Regions from separate parts of the Homo sapiens genome. Here region 1 is linked to region 2. The links are contacts of gene promoters, found by promoter capture Hi-C in blood cells and fetal thymus (Javierre and others, 2016). All regions are on one chromosome and are shown on one strand. The core of a region is centred on a gene start or on the middle of the fragment in contact, and the rest is flanking DNA. Distances in the headings are between cores, read along the strand shown.

What was found. Contacts are between HindIII fragments. The CHiCAGO score rates a contact against its expected background, and 5 or more counts as called.
Region 1: a contact is called between a fragment that was not itself captured here and the fragment with the promoter of ARTN in region 2, in 2 of 17 cell types (endothelial precursors and M2 macrophages). The highest score is 5.3, in endothelial precursors.

The regions. Positions count from the first base shown.
Region 1 is chr1:43,821,068-43,823,954 of GRCh38, reverse strand. The region is part of intron 4 of ST3GAL3 (ST3 beta-galactoside alpha-2,3-sialyltransferase 3); the gene reads right to left. Among named protein-coding and RNA genes, the nearest start is that of MIR6079, 16 kb to the left of the region's middle. RefSeq lists an enhancer at 1,385-2,584. The HindIII fragment of the contact is 2,881 bases long and covers 1-2,826 here.
Region 2 is chr1:43,932,474-43,935,412 of GRCh38, reverse strand. ARTN (artemin) reads right to left here and starts at 1,612. Exons shown (of 5, transcript NM_057091.3): 1 at 1,528-1,612; 2 at 1,153-1,301. RefSeq lists enhancers at 1-81, 2,171-2,220, 2,850-2,939 and silencers at 971-1,020, 1,571-1,660. The HindIII fragment of the contact is 8,131 bases long and covers 1-2,939 here.

The DNA.
Region 1 (2,887 bases), core at 137-2,636, 110 kb after region 2:
AGCTAAGTTGAATAGTGAGAAAAGTAAAAAAGTTTGGAGCCAGGCAGAGAAGGGTTCAAAGACTGGCTTGATCACATTTAGTTCTGTGAACATAAGCAAATTACTTATCCCTTCTATATCATTTTCACATTTGTTAAAATGCATTTAAATACCATCTACTTCACAGAGTTGTCCACCATTTATCCATGCAACAAATATTTATTAATTGATCACTAAGTAATACAGTAGATACTGGTTTTGGTGTTAGAAAATAGTAGGGAACAAAACAGAAGAAACACTCTAGTAGATGGAGACAGACAATAAACAAGTAAATAAAACATATGTGGCATCCGAGAGTGATAGATACCCTGGAGAAAATGACACAGTAAAGGGGAACAGGGAACGCCAATAGGGGATGGGGCTATGATTTTAAATGGGATGGGCAAAGGAGACTTTATTAAGAAGGTGACATTTGAACTATGTTCTAAAAAGGCAAGAGAGTGCGCAATCTCTTCAGGTATCTGGGGAAGAGTGTTCCAGACAAGGGAATGAGCAAATGCCAAGAGTCTGAGGCGGGAACAGGTCTGGAATATCCGAATCACAGCAAGGAGCGCAGGATAAAACAATAAACAAGAAGGAGAGCAACAAGAAACGAAGGTGTGGACCATGTAGGGCCTTGATGAGCACTATAAAGGTTCTGGCTCTCATTCTACAAGAAATGGGGAGCCATTGGGGAGTTCTGATCACAGGAGTAACAAGATCTATCTTGTATTTTAATGGGATCACTTTGGCTTCAGTGTGGAAATAGACCACAGAGAAGCAAGCATAAAATCTGGAAGACTAGTTAGGAGTGCAAAAATTAGGTGAGAGATGGTGGTTTGGACAGAGTGATGATACAGAGGTAGTGAGAAGTGGCTGGATCTGAGGATATTAAGGTAAAGCTAATAAGGTTTGCTGATATCAGATTTGAGTGTCAAAGAAATGATGCTACAGTATTTGATGTGAGCAATTGGAAGGATGTAGTTAGCTGCCATTTCCTGGGGTAGAAAAGATTCTGGGAGGCAGGGGTGTGAATCTGGAGTTTGGTTCTGGACATGTTAAGTGTGAGATGCCTAATACATATCCAAATGAAGGAAGCAATTGGGTAAATGAGTCTGGAGTGTGGGGAAAGAGAACTGGGCTTGATATAAATATAGGAGTCATCAGCATATAGATGATATTTAAAGCCATGATACCGGATTAGATTATCTAAGCAAATGTTGTGGGAACAGGTAACATAGAAAGTACCTAGTGCACCACTGGGCATATAGTAGGTGCTCAATAAATGCTTTCCCCTTGCAGCCCTAGGGAACTTGACAGGCTGTTTTAGAAGTGTTAAACTCACCTCAGGCTATATTTAGACTGCTCCATGTTTATACACTATTACAAATGACCTGGTTTTTCACAAGGCTCTGGGGGTTAAGAGTTGTTTGCTTTCATTTTCATATTTTTGTGTCTTCACATGGAATTCCTTATGAAATTAGACTGAGCATTAAAGTCCCCATGCTCTTGCCCACATGGCAACTGTAAAACACCACACTGTGGCAGCAGACAGGAGCTTTCCCAGAGCACAGAGCACCTGCCCACACCCAGCAGAAATAGATGAAACTTCCATTTAATTAAATCTGCTCCCAGAAGGCCCACGTCGGCTCAGGAAAGTCACACTTGGACACCAGGATCTGGCTCCTTCAAGGAATCCAGATGACTCATCTCTCTCCTGGACTAATGGGCACATTCCTGGCTCGTTGTGTCATATTCCTTATAATGGAGACTGAGATTTCCTTAGGGTTCTTCCTGGAATGCTCTGCCTCTCTTCCTTTGACTCTTTCCTCAAATGTCACCTTCTCAATGAATTCTACTTTGACTGTCCCATTGCAACTTGCAATCTCTTCAACAGCATTCCCTTGTCTTGCTCTATTTTCTTTCACAGCACTTATCACCTTCCAAAATCCTAAAAACTTTATTTATAATAATTTTTGTTTATTGATTGTCTTGTTCACTGGTATATCCTCAGACCACAGAATATTGCCTGATACATATTAGTTGCTCAACAAATCTGTTAACTGAATGAGGGAGTATCCACTTTGTTGTCGGGGCAAGAGCCTTTACCCCTGAGACTTTTCGAGGCCCTCAACTTTGAGCCAGACCACAGTAGACCCCTTTCAGAGAGCAGATGTGCCTCCTTGGAGGTATCCTTAAATCAGGTTGTGGCTGCCTGCACGTAGCAGCCTGAGTGCCCAACCCCTGGGGAAGACGGGGTCAATTCTCAGGCAACCACAAGGCTGGCAATGTCACCAACTCACCAGTCTCACATTCTAGTTATTCCTGTTTCTCTCCAAACCATATTCTTCTCAGTTTTCTTATCCTCAAGTCACTGCTCTCTGCTTCTTCTTGGTCCAATTTCCTACTTCTCCCCTGGCACGGTCCACATTCTAACTTTCAATTATGTGGCATAAAACTGTGTTCCTTTATATCCTCAAACTCTTCGGTGAATGTTCCTTCCATTTTTGCTTTCATAGAAACCTGGGTCTCTCGGGAAAACGCCATTTTTACAGCCCTCTGCAAAGGAGGCTGCTCTTTCATCTATACTTCATGGACCTTGGGATCCCTGGTTATCCTTTTTGTACTCCATTAATGCTTCCAAATCACCAATATGTCATGCTTATTATAAAAAAACAAACAACCAAAAACTTGTCTGTTGCTCATGCTATCCAGCAATACTACCCTTTACCCTCCCTTCCTGTTCTCATTCGCTTCCTCCCCATTCACTAAGACTTCAGCTCGCAGGATAGCCTTTCCAATCAAGCTTATAAGGCTGTGTCTATGTCTTAGAATTTTCCGTTTATTCCAACTAGAAAACACATAGCTG
Region 2 (2,939 bases), core at 363-2,862:
ATGGTTTAATCCCCTTTTTCCAGATGAGCAAACAAGGCTCAGAGAAGCTCAGAGGTTGTCTAAGGTTACAAGGTCACACAGCTGGAGGGGAGAGAGGGGTCCTCTTTTCCCAGAACCTTCCTGCTCTGCGTTGTAGGTCTGGAGATGCCAGAAGTGGCTGGAAGGAGTTATAGCTGGACACACTTGGTCCTACAGAGGCCTTCACCCCAGGCTGCCGGAGAGGAAGCTGAGGGCTGGAGAAGAATTAGGGTGCTAGCTGGTCACTCTAAGAGTTATCTAATGATAGTGAGCCCCAAGCCTCAGCCTGTGCTGCCCACCCAGAGCTGCTTCACCTCGCCCCTCTGTGAACTGTGTTCTGGACCCAGAGCCACCTGAGTTCTCTCCTCTGACTATAGGTGTCCCTCGATGACCACAGAGCCGGGGGATGGTGGGAGCTAATGGGCCCTCTGAAAACATGGGGCCTGGGTCATGGCTTCCTGTGGCCACAAGGGGGCAGAGTCTGCCAAGCCTGCAGATTCCAAGCAGGGTGGGCTTTTCCATCCCCTCAGCTACACTCAGGCCTGAGCCACTCCCAGGAGGGCCAGCTAGGCTTCCATACCAGCCTGGTCTCTGAGAGCTGAGCCACCCTGGGAGCTGGTCTAGGTCTGTCCCCCTCCCAGCCTCCTATGGATCTGGCAGCCTAGTCATGCTCCTAGAAGTTTCCCCCTTGAGCCATCGTTCCTGATCCCAGCCAGCCTTCCTGAGCTCCCACTGCTAGCACTCCCAAACACCCTTTTGGGGCCCTAGAGCCTTCGTAAGTCCTCATTAGCCAGCCTCCTCTTGGGTCCCAGCTACCACCCTCATCCCCATCCTTTAGCACACAGAATGCCTGCACACCTGTGGAACAGACCCCCAGGCCTTCCCGGGGTTGTCCTCCAGGTCCTGGTGTGTGCCTCTTGGCTAAGTGGAATCAAGGCCTCCGAGCCAGGCCAGTGACTGTTGTCCGTGATGGAGGGAAAGGCAGGCAGGGCAGCCTTAGGAGCCCTCTGCGCTAGGGGGAGCCCGGGAGCAGGTCTCTTGAGGGCAGCTCAGGCCCTGCCTCCTACCTCCTTGTGGTCTAGGGCCATTTGGTTCTCTGGCCCTTGCCTCCCCATCCACCAGCCCGCTACTCACCACGGGGTCCTGCACCTTGTTCTTCTAGGCACCTTTCCGGGGACCAGTGCTGGGCTCTCCCCCGAAGCTCAAACAGCGCATGCCCAGGACTGTACACCTGGCAGTGCCTCTTTTAGCCAAAAGTGTGGCCTTGGCAGCCAGTCTGCACCCTGTAGCGGCAGCGGGAGCCTCACATTACAGTGGGCCGGCAAGGCCAGCACAGTCCAACAAGCGACAAGAGGGACTGAGGGGCTGGGAGGGGCGGAGAACTGTGCCGAGGGCCCAAGAGAGGGAGGATGCAAGAAAGGAGAGGAGGGGGGTGGTCCTGTCCTCTCCCCCAGCCCAAGAGCGTCCATCCAGGGCTGGGACCAGAAACAGGCAAGTGGGCTGGCTTACCTCGGGTGTGGGGCTCCAGGCCCGGGTGGCAGCGAGGGCTGGGGCCCGAGGGACCTGCTGCTGGCGGAGCCCCCGGGCCTTGTCTGGGGGCCGGGCCCAACTCCATCCCTCAGCAGCCTCCTGCCCGCCGCCGCAGCCGTCCGGTGTCAAATTCCAGCCCCAGCGTCACCAGATCCCGGGGTGGGGCTGGGAGCGCCCCTGCCCCGCCCCACCTTTCGGGGCTCACCTGGCTGCTCCACCCGTCGGATCCAGTCCCCCCTAGCTTGGCTAGGTCCCCCGAGGTTGGGAGGGGGGTAGATGCTGGGAGGGGCCCCTCGGATATGGAGAGTAGAGAACTCGAGCGGTGGAGAGGCACGGAAACCGGGAGTTGAGTTTGTAGACTCGCGAAGTAGAGAGCTGGGAGGCCGGGCCGAGGGCGGGAGAAAGTGAGTGAGGGCGGGGAGCGAGGGGTAAGCCGGTCCCTGCGTGGGGCGGCTGACTGCTGGTACGTGCAGATTTGGGGGTCCGGCTGTCTGCCCTGCAGCAGCTGCTCTCTGCTCCACCCGATTCTTCTCTCAGCGGCCAGTTCACCTGCCTTGTTGGGTTGCTTAGCCTCTGCGCAGCTTTCAGGATCTGACTCTGCTCTAGTCTCCCCACAGCTCACCTCCTGTGCTGCTTAGGGCTTGGAGTACGGACACACTTGCAAACACGGGAGTCACTGGGGCACAGCAGGGGCAGTGTTGGCAGAAGTGGGTACTGAGGGCTGAAGGCAGGGGTCACAGAGGAGGAACATCTGAGCTGAGTCTTGAAGTAGGTAGCTGGAGGGCAGCATTTCAGATGCCTAATTATGGCAATTTGGCAGGTGGGTTGAGGGCTGGGTGAGTAACATGGATGGAAAGATCCTAACACTGGGGACCATGGGAGGGTTTTGAGCAGAATGGTGTAATCAGACAGGCATTTTTTGTGGATGACTCTGGCTGTAGTAAAGAGGATGGGGTTGGAGAGAAAGGTGGAGGCTGCTGTGGAAAGAGGATGAGGTCTGATGCAGGGCATGAGGGGAGCGTGGGGCTGCCAGGCCCCAATCTGGAACACGCAATTTTGAAAATTCATTAGTGCCTGACTGGATAGGGTGAGGAGGTAGGTAGACCCTGCAAAAGTGTGCCTTTGGCGGGGTGACCTGGGGGAGGGGTACATCCCGGCTCCTGGGAGGAAAGGCAGGGGCTCATGAGTTCGGTGTTGGACATGTTGAGTTGGAAGGGCCTGTGGATTATCCAAGTGGAAATGTTCAGGAAGCCGGTGAATTTGTAGCCTGGAAGGAAGCAGAGAGAGCTGCGCTGGCAAAGGCAATTTGGGAATTGTCAACCAACTGGCAATTGGAAGCTGTGGTCAGGGATGAGAGTGCTGGGGATGTGTGTGGACCAGCTGTACCCTGG